Linked DNA regions of Homo sapiens: region 1 is linked to region 2. Evidence: promoter capture Hi-C in human tissues and cell types (Jung and others, 2019). All regions are on one chromosome and are shown on one strand. The core of a region is centred on a gene start or on the middle of the fragment in contact, and the rest is flanking DNA. Distances in the headings are between cores, read along the strand shown.

Region 1 (6,971 bases), core at 2,873-5,372, 170 kb before region 2:
TATCCTGGATAATAACTCCTTCTCAGATATGTGAATTTTTTTTTCTTTTTATTTTTAAATGAAGTCTCGTTCTGTTGCCCAAGCTGGAGTGCAGTGACGCCATCTCGGCTCACTGCAACCTCTGCCTCCCGTGTTCAGGAGATTCTCCTGCCTCAGCCTTCGAAGTAGCTGGAATTACAGGCGTGCACCACCACACCCAACTAATTTTTGCATTTTTAGTAGAGACAGGGTTTCACCATGTTGGGCAGGCTGGTCTCAAACTCCTGAGCTCAAGCGATCTGCCCTACTCAGCCTCCCAAAGTCCTGGGATTACCAGCGTGAGCCACCGCGCCTGGCCCGAGGCTGACTTTTGAGCTGGTTTTTGTGCGTGCTCCGGGGTAAGGGTCCACCTTCACTCTACTGCAGAGGCCCTTATTCCTCTGGGGGAATCGGCCCTCAGTGAAGAGGCCTCTGCTCTCAAACCCCTGTGCAGAGCCTGGCCCCAGCAGGCCCCGGAGGGGGCACCCAGGGCACTGGAGGTCCCGCCCTACCGCAGGCAGCTCTGCATCACACTTCCTGCTCCCCTCCCAAGGGGACCAGGGCAAAGGTGGGCGCGTGCCTGGCACAGTCAGCCACAAGCCTTGCCCAGGATCTTATAGTTACTGATTCAAACCCCCCACCCTCTCCAAGCCTCAGTTTCTCCTTTGTACCCAGGGAGCTGGACCCAACAAGTCCCCTCTCCTTGAAAACGTGTGCCAGGTGCAGGCTGCTCAAAGGACACTTGTGGGCTGAGGATGCACAACTGAGGGAGCCTCTTCCCTCCCCCACCTGCTCCATGCCCCTCACCCCCACCTGCTCCATGACCCTCACCCCTACCTGCTCCATGTCCCTCACCCTCACCTGCCACAGCCTCCCCAAACCCCAGCCCCTCCTGGCACTACTTCCCACCAGGACAGGAATTCTCTAGATGCCTGAGCCATGTCTCCTCAGTCCCTCACCACACACACACAGGGAACCAGGGCCTTGTCTTACTTCTCCTGTTCCACAACCTTCTATGGCTCCCATGGCCCACAGGTTCAGGCCCAGGCCCTCCCCAGCCACACACCACATCCAGTCAGTCTCCCCAAGCCCCACTCATGACAAGCCCCCCACCTCACCAGCCCTGCCCTCTCTGTGCCTGAGGCTGCAGCGGGATCCACCGAGGCCCGTGGCTGTCTTGCTTTTCTTCAGCCACGGCTTTTACTGGCTGACGCCTCCCCACACAGCCCTGTGCTGGCATCTTCGCCAGAAAGATGGCGTTGGAACCTTAGCCCATGTCAGGAAGCCAAAGGGCCATATCCCTCTGCCAGGCTTGCCCAGGGGGCTGGTTAAGAATGCAGATTTCAGCTGGGCGTGGTGGTCCACACCTGTAATCCCAGCACTTTGGGAGGCCGAGGTGGGCGGATCACTTGAAGTCAGGAGTTTGAGACCAGCCTAGCCAACATGGTGAAACCCCGTCTCTATTAAAAATACAAAAATTAGCCGGGTGTGGTGGTGCACGCCTGTAATCCCAGCTACTCGGGAGGCTGAGGCAGGAGGATCGCTTGAACTCAGGAGGTGGAGGTTGCAGTAAGCCAAGATGGCGCCACTGCACTCTAGCCTGGGCAACACAGTGAGACTCCATCTCACAAAAAAAAGGAAAAAAAAAAAGCAGATTCCCAGGACCTCAAGGCTGGGGGCCAGGACAGCAGGTGTCTAGACAGGCCACGGAGGCTCTGAGCCTGGGAGTTGCAGCCAGGCCAGGCCCCCGCTGGTCTTGGTGGGACAGGGCTGTGCATGGCTTCCAGGGACTGGATTCTGGGGGAGGCTGCCCCTGCTGCCCTGGACCCACATCCCCACGGCTGCGCCTCCCAGGCAGGCAGACCCAGGGTGTGTGGCTGCCCCTCCTGCTGCAGGTGCCTGACAGGGAAATGCCCGCTGGGGACCCTGTGGGAGGTGGTGGGGGAATGAGTGAGGGAGGGAGGGAGTGAATGAGTGAAGGAGGGAATGAGTGAGTGAGGGAGGGAATTAATGCATGAGTGAGGGAGGGAATGAATGAATGAGGGAGGAAGGGAATGAGTGAGGGAGGGAATGAATGAGTGAGGGAGGGAATGAGTGAGGGAGGGAATGAATGAGGGAGGGAATGAATGAATGAGGGAGAGAGGGAGGGAATGAGGGAGGGAGGCAATGAGTGAGGGATGGAATAAATGAGTAAGGGAGGGAATGAGTGAGGGAGGGAGGGAATGAATGAATGAGGGAGGGAGTGAATGAATGAGTGAGGGAGGAAGTGAATGAGGGAGGAAGGGAATGAGTGAGGGATGGAATGAATAAGGGAGAGAATCAGTGAGGGAGGGAGGGAATGAATGAGTGAGGGAGGGAATGAGTGAGGGAGGCAGGGAATGAATGAGGGAGGGTGGGAATGAATGAGGGAGGGAATGAATGAATGAGGGAGGGAATGAATGAATGAGGGAGGGAGGGAATGAGGGAGGGAGGGAATGAATGAATGAGGGAGGGAATGAACGAATGAGGGAGGGAATGAATGAGGGAGGAATGAGTAAGTGAGGGAGGGAATGAGTTTGTGAGAGTGGGAATGAGTGAGGGAGGGAGGGAATGAATGAATGAGAGAGGAAATGAGTGAGGGAGGGAATGAGTGAGGGAAGGAATGAATGAGTGATGGAGGGAATGAATGAATCAGTGAGGGAGGGAATCAGTGAGGGAGGGAATGAGTGAGTGAGGGAGGGAGGGAATGAATGAGAGAGGGAATGAGTGAGGGAGGGAAGGAATGAATGAGGGTGGGAATGAATGAATGAGGGCGGGAATGAATGAATGAGGGCGGGAATGAGTGAGAGTGAGAATGAGTGAGTGAGGGAGGGAATGAATGAGTGAGGGAGGGAATGAGTGAGGGAGGGAATGAGTGAGTGAGGGAGGGAATGAGTGAGGGAGGGAATGAGTGAGTGAGGGAGGGAATGAGTGAGTGGGAATGAATGAGTAAGTGAGGGAGGGAATGAGTGAGTGAGGGTGGCAATGAATGAGTAAGTGAGGGAGGGAATGCGTGAGAGAGGGAAGGAATGATTGAGTGATGGAGGGATCGAATGAATGAGGGAGGGAGGGAATTAGTGAGGGAGGGAGGGAATTAGTGAGTGAGGGAGGGAATGACGGAGTAGGGGAGGGAATGAATGAATGAGTGAGGGAGGGAATGAATGAATGTGGTCACTCCCCGCGGTCCCCAAGCACCCGGACACCGTGACCTTGGCTGCGGCCCCGCCGTCGGCGAAATGCGGGCGGGGGGGCCGGGAGAGCCCGGGGGCCAGCACGGTCGCGCGTTGGCGAACGGACTGTCCCGCGCGCTCGCGGGTCTGGGGGCCTCCCGACCCGGTCCTGCTTGTTGCGTGGGCGGGAGGGGGGACCGGAAGCGCCCCTCCCCCACGGGCTCGCCCCGCCCCCGCCGCTCGCGGTCCCCCACGTCCCGCCCGCGCCCCGGCCCAGGGCCAGCCCCCGGTTTAGGGAGCATCCACACTTCTCCTCCCGTCGGTCATGCTCGCATTCGGCCTTTTGTACGGGGTCAGCTCATTGGGCGGATGAGAAGGTGTCCCCGCCTACCGCCCCGAACTGGCCAATTGCAAGGGGTTTCACAGGGCGCTGAACTCGCGGGAGCGTCACCGTCCTGCGACGCTTCAGAGGATCCTTAGGCCTCAGTGGTCTTTGACCCCCGGCCCCAGGACCTGACCCCAAGGAAACCTCCGGGACCTGTGGCTGGAGAGGTGACCGCCAGGCATCCGGGGAGCCTTTGGAGATCTCGGCTTCCTTTTTCCCCCGCTGCTTGCCGGCGTGTCCTCGGGTGGACGCGGGCAGCCCGAAGGGGAGTTTACAGACGCTCCCTCACATCGGGGACGCGGCTCCTTTAAGGGCGTAGGTGTCCAGGGCGCCGCCTGACTGGAAAGTCGCCCCCCGGCCGGGCTCCTGGGGCGGACCCGGGGCGCGGGCGCGCGGCGGCGGGGCGCGGGCAACGGGGAGCGCTCGGCGGCGCGGGAGGCGCTCGGGGCCGGGCGGCAGGAGCGGCGCGCGAGGCAGGCGTGCAGAGGGCAGCCCCGCGTTAGGCCCCGCCCCGCGCGCCCCGCCCGCGCCAGGGTCCTCGGAGCTGCTCTGGCTGCGCGCGGAGCGGGCTCCGGAGGGAAGTCCCGAGACAAAGGGAAGCGCCGCCGCCGCCGCCCCGCTCGGTCCTCCACCTGTCCGCTACGCTCGCCGGGGCTGCGGCCGCCCGAGGTGAGCGCGTGCGGGGGCCGGGCCGGGGCCGCGGGGCGGGGGTCGGGCCGAGGCCTCTACTCCTGTTGGGCCCGGGCCCCCGACTGCCCCGCGCCCCGCCCCGCCGAGCCGGGCCCCGCGCCGCGGCCGAGCTTTCCGGGGAGCCCGAGAGGCCCCGCGCTCGGCGCCGGCTCGGTCCGCGCTGCTGGCGCCGCTGGGCTGCGGCCCGAGCGGCCGGGCCGCCGCAGGCCTTCGGGGCCGGGGCTCCCCCACTTCGCCCCCGAGGTGCGCCTGGCGCGGGGCCGGGGCAGCCACCTGCAGCCGGGGCCCCGCGAGGCCGCGCCTTCCTCCTGCGCGGGGAGCGGCTTCCGGGGTCACGGTCGCCCCGCGGACGGATAGGATGGGCCGCGGGGGGAGAGTCTTGGATTGCAACATCGCTGGCTCGCGGGGGTGGGGGCCGGCGAGCGGGCTTGTTTTCGGTGCCTTAAAACCAAAACAAGTGTAAGTTTTCTTGTGCCTCTGAAGATGCTCCGCTGGCGCTTGCTGGGGCCCTGAACGTGAGCGCCTCGCTGGAGGGGGAGTTTTATTCTGTTTTGGACATCTCTTTTTATCGGTTGAATAGTAGTTGGTTCTGGTAGTTAACGTGCGTAGGAGGAATGTAAGGGAATGATTAGTTGGGCTTGTGATCGTGGCCTGTAGTCACGCTTGAATCGCAGAATGAAGTGGTTTTGTTTGTATAATTGGAAGTTACGCTTAGTTTCTCTGTTTGCAAAGTGCCTGTCTTTGGGGAGTTCGGTTTGTTTCCTTTTACAGGACCTACCCCAAGTGTTTCTTGCTCTTCAAGAAACGTTGCCTTTGGGTAGAGAACCTATGCAACGGAAGACGGGACGGATCCTCAGTTTGCCCTGATTGCTCATTCAGAGAGGTCCGTTCCCTAGGCCACTGGGTGATTGCTGGTGTGCGCTTGTATGGTGTCTCAGGGTTTGGGATCTTGCTTCAGAAACATTCTCGGGGCCTGGGGCAGATCAGGTGCGGCCAGGTAAGCGTCTCCCGACTGCAGGTGCTTGGGTCTTGCAGAAGGGAATACCTCCCCAAGCCTGGGAGAGTTTGCATTTGGGTGCAGGAGGGCCTTTAAAGGCTTCTTGTGCCAGCCTGTCGTGGCGACCACCCGTTGTGGAGATCAGTGCGGTGGAGTTGTGGGAGGTGAGTGCTTTGCTCACCCTCAGCCAGGAAGTTGCTCTGAAGTCGGTGCTGTCAACCAGCAGAGCAAGGCGGTGATCCGAGAAGCTAAAGCTCAGCCGGTTGCGGGCGCCCAGCAGGAGGACAGAAGGCAGACTTTCGGGCCGCTCCTGGAGTGCCCGGCCCTGTCCCCGTTTCTGCAGTGTCTGGGCCTTGCCTGGCTCTAATAGATGAGGGTTGTTTTTGTCTTTGCATCATAAAAGTTTCTTGCTCTGAAGCGTTTAGTAACTACTAGCCGTTCACTAAGTGCCTATCTGTGAATTTGGAAGGGCAAATTCGATTTTCAGCGGAATTTTGAACGCTTGATCTGTGTTGTGATTACATTGTAACAGATTGGCCGCTTTCTCCAGAAGGCCAGTAGGAGGGGGTGCAGGGGGAGGGGCCTGGCTTCTGTCTGGGACACGGTGGGTGTGCACCTGTGGCTCCTTGCCCTGGCGGTGCAGTGCCTGTGAGACCACCCCGTGGTGCTGAGTGCTTTGGGGCAGGGGACACAGCAGCAGCAGCCAGGTCTTGGCAGGAGGTCTCGCAGGACCACCCCTCACGACTTCTCACACCTGAGACAGCAATAGCTAGGTGCTGGGACGGGGGCCTCTAGGCGGCTCTGTCCAGTCCTCAGCAGGAGGGCTGCCTGTGGCAGGGTCCCAGGCCCGTCTGGCCTCTCTGTGGCCTGGCCTTGCCTGGCTGTGAGGATAGCCTTGCCCATGGTCCTTCAGTGTCTGGAGCACTGGCCTGAGGCTTCAGAGACTTGCCTGATGCCTGGCCTCGCTCAGACCCCGGGCACCTGGGAGGTCGTGCCTCCTTGAAATGGCCACTCGCCAGGCTGCTTTGCACCGCACCGGGCACAGGCTGCGGCCACTCAGGAAGCCCATCCTGGGGCTGGGGAAGCGAGAGCTGTGAGTCCTCAAGTCGCAGCTGGGCTGCTCCACGTGGGAGTGGAGGGTGGAGGAACGTGTGGAGTTTCGGAGTCCAGCCCAGTGCGGAGACAGCCTTGAAACCGTGGTTGGCGGGCGCTCCACTCCGCTCTGGGCTCGAACCCTGCCTGACCATAGCTGTGCCCCCCACTTTCTCCCTGTCTGGCCCCTGGCTCCCCCCCCCTCACTTAGAGGAGGGCACGGGGAAGGGCAAACGGTCCAGAGGGCGGGCGGCCTGCGGGCTCCTCTGCATCATGTGAGGAGGGCGTGGGGAAGGACATCCCGGTGGGGCCCGGTCTGGGGCTGCCTCCAGCCCGGGCTGCCTGTCTTGGACTTAGTCGTGGACCTGGAGGCCAGTGCCCGGCTGGCCCCTGTCACCCTCTCGCTGTGACGCCAGCGCCTGCTGACTGGAGGACCCAGGTTCCTTCGCCTGCTTTTTCTCAGGCTGCCCTGAGGATCTGTGTTTGGTGAAAAGGAGCCAAATTCACCTGCAGGGCAGGCGGCTCTAGCAGCTTCAGAAGCCTGGTGCCCTGGCGACACTGGACCTGCCTTGGCTTCTTTGATCCCAACCCCACCCCCGAT
Region 2 (6,385 bases), core at 1,885-4,384:
TTCAAAGCCTGTTCATGTGCGCAGCAGGGCTGACCTCCAGGCTCCACAGCGCATCCCAAACACACACTCCCTCTGTCCTTTCCCCCCGTCCGCCTGCCTGAAGATCTTGTGCTCTTCAAGCCCAAGCCTTGTGACTGCTCCTGCCCCAGGGGCCCTGCAGACCATCCGCACAGGGCACTGGGCCTGTCTCCAGCAGGAAGGAAGCAGCTTTATGCGCCTGCGTCCCAGGCAGCCACAGAGCAAGTGCACGATAAACTATTTTTTAAATTGCTTGTAAGCAGAGTATCCGCTGTTATTAAATGCAAACAAACAAATAAGCTTACAATGACTTTTAAGGGAATAGTTTTTTTATTTTTATTTTTGAGATGGAGTTTTGTTCTTGTTGCCCAGGCAATGGCGTGATCTCGGCTCAGTGCAACCTCTGCCTCCTGGGTTCAAGCGATTCTCCTGCCTCAGCCTCCTGACTAGCTAGGATTACAGGCGCTCACCACTATACTCGGCTAATTTTTCTATTTTTAGTAGACATGGGGTTTCACCATGTTGGCCAGGCTGGTCTCGAACTCCTGACCTCAGGTGATCCACCTGCCTCGGCCTCCCAAAGTGCTGGGATTACAGGCATGAGCCACCGTGCACAGCCGGGAATACTTTCTAAGGTTAAGAGATCAACAGATTATTTCCCAAAAAATCAACTCTTCTATTTGCAAAGACAGACAGGAAACCCCAAGCACATTCAGTCCCAAGAGAAACTCAAATTCAACCTCCATCAAGGTTCCTAATCTTTACCTTTCAGCCCTTAAAGTTGGGTTTATTCCTTCTACCTTGTGAACTTCAGATTTCTTTAATTAAAAAAATTTTTTTTAAATTTTTTGAGATAGGTTCTCAAACTCCAGCCTGGGCAAAAGAGTGACAAACTACCTCGGAAAAAAAAAAAAAAAAGCACCTCACTGCAGCTTCAACCTCCTGGGCTCATGCGACTCCTCTGCCTCAGCCTCCCGAGCCAGTAGCTGGGACTACAGATGCATATCACCACACCTGGCTAATTTTGTTTTTTTTTTTTTGAGACAGGGTTTCACTATTTTGCCCAGGCTGGTCTTGAACTTCTGGGCTCAAGTGATCCTCCCCTACCTTGGCCTCCCAAAGTGCTAGGATTACAGGCATGAGCCACCACACCTGGCCTTTCTTTTAAAACAGAAACACACACACACACACACAGAGGCATACACATACACACACAGGCATACACACAAATAACTAATCACCCATGGCCCCATCACTTCAAATTAACCCCTTCAGATCACTTTTCATGCAGACTACAGCACGGAGAGCAGGAGGGCCCACTTCAAAGGGAGCTGAGCTGCTGCTTCTTATCAGCAAAAGGCAGACTATGACCTTCTTTGTCTGGTGCGTTTCTAAGGAATTGGGAAAACCTAAATGTAGGTTCTATGGAAACAGGCTGATTTTCGTGTCCTTCCTAAACTTTTTTTTTTTTTTTTTTTTTTTTGAGACGGAGTCTCGCTCTGCCCAGGCTGGAGTGCAGTAGCGCCATCTCCGCTCACTGTAAGCTCCGCCTCCCGGGTTCAATTGATTCTCCTGCCTCAGCCTCCCGAGTAGCTGGGACTACAGGCGCCCGCCACCACGCCTGGCTAATTTTTTGTATTTTTAGTAGAGACGGGGTTTCACCATATTAGCCAGGATGGTCTCAATCTCCTGACCTCATGATCCACCCGCCTCGGCCTCCCAAAGTGCTGGGATTACAGATGTGAGCCACCGTGCCCTGCCGTCCTTCCTAATCTTTAAGCACAAGACAAGTGTTTAAAGGACTAGACAAGAGAAAATGTAAAGAATAACTGCAAAGCAGATTAAGACCCATCAACAAAACGGTCCATTAACTCAAAAGTAACACAATACGGCCAGGCGCAGTGGCTCACGCCTGTAATCCCAGCACTTTGGGAGGCTGAGGTGCGGGGGATCACGTGAGGTCGGGAGTTCGAGGCCAGCCTGACCAACACGGAGGAACCCCGTCTCTACTAAAAATACAAAATTAGCCGGGCGCGGTGGCGCACGCCTGTAATTCCAGCTACTCAGGAGGCTGAGGCAGGAGAGTCACTTAAACTCGGGAGGTGGGGGTTGCAGTGAGCCGAGATCGCGCCATTGCACTCCAGCCTGGGCAACTACAGTGAAACTCCGTCTCAAAAAAAAAAAAATATTAAGACAATACACAGACAGGGAAACAAATGTACCCGCAACGGTTCTCCAGACCTTAACACTGCTCAGACGCACGCTGCAGGGTGACATGCGGAACGCATTCCAACCTCTGACTTGCTGCTTATTGTGTTTGCCTGCACATTGCAAATTCAACTCGGTGCGAAGGGAGACTGAGTACAAATACTCGTCACTCCCAAGATCACCTGAAAGTCGGGACTGATCCCCACACAGAAAGATGGCAGATAAAGGCGCTCAGTCATTCTCACTGAAAGACAGTGACCCGGCTGCAATCTTAACTGTTTCCATCTCCCAGGGGGTCAAAAACGCAAACAAAATTAGTTGCTCGTGTAGGATGACAATTTTTAAAAGTCACCTGAACAGAAAGCCACTTGCACCCCTTTAGGGCCAGTCTGGGGGACACCGGAGGGAATGAACGTGCGCCACGGCTGCCCCGGCGCCCCTCAGCGCCCCACATTCCGCGGGGTCTGGCGAGCTCCGCCTCGCCCACGCAGCCCTCCCGGCCACCGAGCCCGGCGCGGCCTCCGAAGACTCCAGACCCCAGGCGCCCCCGCCAGCCCGGCCCCGCCGAGGAGCCCCGGGGCGCGTTCCCGAGTCCACCGCGCCTCGGTCGCCTCCAGGACCGAGACACGCGGCGCCGCCAGAAGGCTCACGAGGGCGCGGGCTGCGGGGCGCACGAGGGCTCAGTTTCCCCGCCTGCGCCCTGCCCGGCCTCACCTGGCGCGCAGCCCCAGGCCCAGCCCCGTTCAGCAGCGGCGTCCCCCCGCCGGGCCGCGCCGTCCTCCGCAGCAGCGGCGCCGCCTCCTCGTCGTCCCGGTCCCGGCCGGACCAGGACACCTTCTTAGAGACGTTGGCCATGGCCCGCCGCGGAGCGACACCGGCCGGGAAGCGCCGGCTGCCCCCGTGTTTGTTCTCGTGACCCGCGCCGGCGGCCACGTGACGCGCGACGGGGCCACGTGATGAGCGACGGCGACCATGTGACCTGCAACGGCAACCACCGAGGCCCGGTCGCGCGGGGGCTCCTGGGAGCCGCGCTCCCGGCGGGTCGTGGCGCCGCCCGCCCTAGAGAATCGCCGCGGCCCTGAGGACCCCGTTCTGCCCACGCGACTGCAAAGGCGGCCCCGTTGGGCTGAGCGCCGAGTGCTTGGGAGGCGAATGGCCGCCCCCGGGACCTCGGGCCCGGGAGTCGGGGCGAGGGAAGCGCCCGGGGCCTGAGGGCAGGAGCCGGCTGGAGGGGCTCCCCCAGGCCCGGTCGCCCGCGCCGATCGTGACGGAGCCGCGGTGGGGAAGGGAGGAGGGAGGCAGGGGCGAGGGCAGGCCTTTCCTTGCCATAGGCGGCGGCTAAAGACGTGAAGGATGAAATTAGAAGTCCCGAAGCATGCATCCGCCCTCGCAGTAGGCACTCGGGCGAGGGTCGGAGTGGAGGCTTCCTCCAGGCAGCCCCAGAGGGTCCTCCCGCCTAATGAGAAAAGAACAGAAGGCGAGTCCTCTTCAACGATCAGGCCCCAGAGACAGTACAGGAGGGTCGCCTCTGGAAACTGCCGGCTACTACGCAGATAGCTGTGAATTAGCCAAATAGCCGCCCGGACCCTGTACCCGCACCAGGGCACAGCCCATCACTAATCAATGGTATTTCCATAAACCAAAGAGAATTCTTGACAGCTTTACATCAGCCCCCACCCTGTCCCCACCTTCTGGGTCATTTATTTATTTATTTTGAGACAGGGTCTCCTTCTGTCGCCCAGGCTGGAGTGCGGTGGTGCGGTCACAGCTCAGTGCAGCCTTGACCTCCTGGACTCAAGCCATCCTCCCGCCTCAGCCTCTGGAGTAACAGGGACCACAGGCCTGCACCACCACACCCGGCTAATTTTTGCTGTGGAGCTCACAGTGTGTTGCCCAGGCTGTTCTCAAACTTCTGACCTCAAGTGATCCTTCCACGTTAGCCTCTAGAGTAAACTCTTTATATTTTGTGCCTCATCCTCTTCCTTTTAAAAGGTCGATATTTTTATTATTGAGACGGAGTCTCACTCTGTCGCCCAGGTTGGAGTGCAGTGGCCCAATCTCGGCTCACTGCCTCCCGGGTTCATGCCTCAGCCTCCCGAGTAGCCGGGACTACAGGCGCCCGTCACCATGGCCGGCTAATTTTTTGTATTTTTAGTACAGATGGGGTTTCACTGTGTTAGCCAGGATGGTCTCGATCTCCTGACCTCGTGATCCACCCGCCTCGGCCTCCCAAAGTGCTGAGATTACAGGCGTGAGTCACGGTGCCCGGCCTTTTTTTAAATTATTATTATTATTTTTTTATTTTTGAGACACAGTCTCACTTTGTCACCCAGGCTGAAGTACAATGACAAGATCATAGCTCACTGCAGCCTTGACCTCTTGGGTTCAAGGGATCCTCCTTCCTCAGCCTCCTGAGTTGCTAGGACTCTTCGTATGAGCCACCATGCCCGGCCATGGTTGGCATTTCTTTTTTCTTTTTCCTTCTTTTTTTTTTTTTTTTTTGAGACGGAGTTTCACTCTTGTCACCCAAGCTGTAGTGCAATGGCGCTATCTTGGATCACTGCAACCTCCGCCTCCTGGGTTCAAATGATTCTTCTGCCTCAGCCTCCCGAGTAGCTGAGATTACAGGCACCCGCCACCACACCTGGCTAATTTTTCTTTTTTTTGTTTCCTTTTGGTTTTTTTTGAGACAGAGTGTCGCTCTGTTGCCCAGGCTGGAGTGCAATGGCGTGATCTTGGCTCACTGCAAGCTCCGCCTCCCGGGTTCACGCCATTCTCCTGCCTCAGCCTCCCAAGTAGCTGGGACTACAGGCGCCCGCCACCACGCCCGGCTAATTTTTTGTATTTTTAGTAGACCCGGGGTTTCACCGTGTTAGCCAGGATGGTCTCAATCTCCTGACCTTGTGATCCGCCTGCCTTGGCCTCCCAAAGTGCTGGGATTACAGGCATGAGTCATGGCGCCAGGCCTAATTTTTGTATTTTTAGTAAAGATGGGATTTCTCCACGTTGGCCAGGCATGTCTTGAACTCCTGACCTCAGGTGATCCACCCACCTTGGCCTCCCAAAGTGCGGGGATTACAGGAATGAGGCACCGTGCCCGGCCCAGGGTCAGCATTTCTTAACGGTGAAGGGAAAAAAGAAACCTAGCAGGCGCCACCTGAACCAAGCAACCCAGTTCAGCATTGCTGGTGATGGGATAAGGTGGCATCGTGTGCCTCCTGATGTGATGCACCAGGAAGGACACAACGTCCCTTCCGGAGCATTCCTGCAAAACATGCTCACCTTGAGTCCACTCATAAAGGGGAAACACCAGATAATCCCACTTTGAGGGACAGCCTGCTGAACATCTAGGCCATCTTCTTCCACAATGTCAGTATTGTGAAAGAGACAAAGAGAGGCTGAGGAGACAACCTCACGTGGGTCTGGCATGGTTGAGACAATTGGCAAAGATTGGACATACACTGTATGAGCTAACGGTGTTGGAGCAGTAGTAAATCTCCCACGCGTGATCATTATATTGTGGTTACGTCAGGAAAGCTCCCCGATCTTAGGAGATACATACTGAAATACTTGGGACCTTGTGTTGCTATGTCTGCAGCTTACACTCGGACAATTCAAAACCTGACAATAATCATAATGAGTAGCAGCCTTCTGAGAGGGAGGGAAAATGGCAATGTTAACATCTGGCCCTTGGCTGTCTGCACCACCATGCAGCAGGCAAGAACGAGCACCTTAACCGAAGTGGCAGGAAGGGAGCCAAGAAGAAAGAGGTTGGTCCACTGTCTGAGAGAGACTGGCATGAGGCGAAAGCACCAGCTGTGCTTGGCATAAGGAGTATGGAAAACACCAGGCACAGGGACGTCAGGAACCAAAATCACACCCGATGGCCTCAAGGGCCGTGTTTTTGAAGTCAGTACTGCTCATCTGCAGAATGGTGAAGTTGCATCTGGAAAATTCAAGCTAATCACTGAGGATGTTCAGTGCAAAAACAGCCTGACCAGCTTTCATGGAAAAAAAAAAAGACCATGATTGAAGCTCATATGGTTGTCAAAACTACAGATGATCATTTGCCTCATCTGTTCTGTGCTGCTTTTACTAAAACAGTGCAGCAAGCAGATTGGGAAGACCTCTCACAGGCAGCACTGGCAGGCCCGTCAAA

Evidence for each region. The method cuts DNA at HindIII sites, captures the fragments that hold promoters and counts their contacts. A contact is called where the count stands out against the background at its distance.
Region 1: the fragment with the promoter of UBE2I here is called in contact with the fragment with the promoter of CLCN7 in region 2 in 1 of the 25 tissues and cell types used here (IMR-90 fibroblasts).

What each region holds. Positions count from the first base shown.
Region 1 is chr16:1,305,514-1,312,484 of GRCh38, forward strand. UBE2I (ubiquitin conjugating enzyme E2 I) reads left to right here and starts at 4,123. Exons shown (of 7, transcript NM_003345.5): 1 at 4,123-4,260. RefSeq lists silencers at 3,192-3,481, 3,972-4,271, 4,472-4,661 and enhancers at 3,692-3,931, 4,633-5,244, 6,677-6,726. The HindIII fragment of the contact is 23,762 bases long and covers 1-6,971 here.
Region 2 is chr16:1,471,894-1,478,278 of GRCh38, forward strand. CLCN7 (chloride voltage-gated channel 7) reads right to left here and starts at 3,135. Exons shown (of 25, transcript NM_001287.6): 1 at 2,941-3,135. The coding sequence starts at 3,081. It also overlaps the pseudogene RPS3AP2. RefSeq lists silencers at 2,878-3,087, 3,208-3,557 and an enhancer at 3,095-3,638. The HindIII fragment of the contact is 17,994 bases long and covers 1-6,385 here.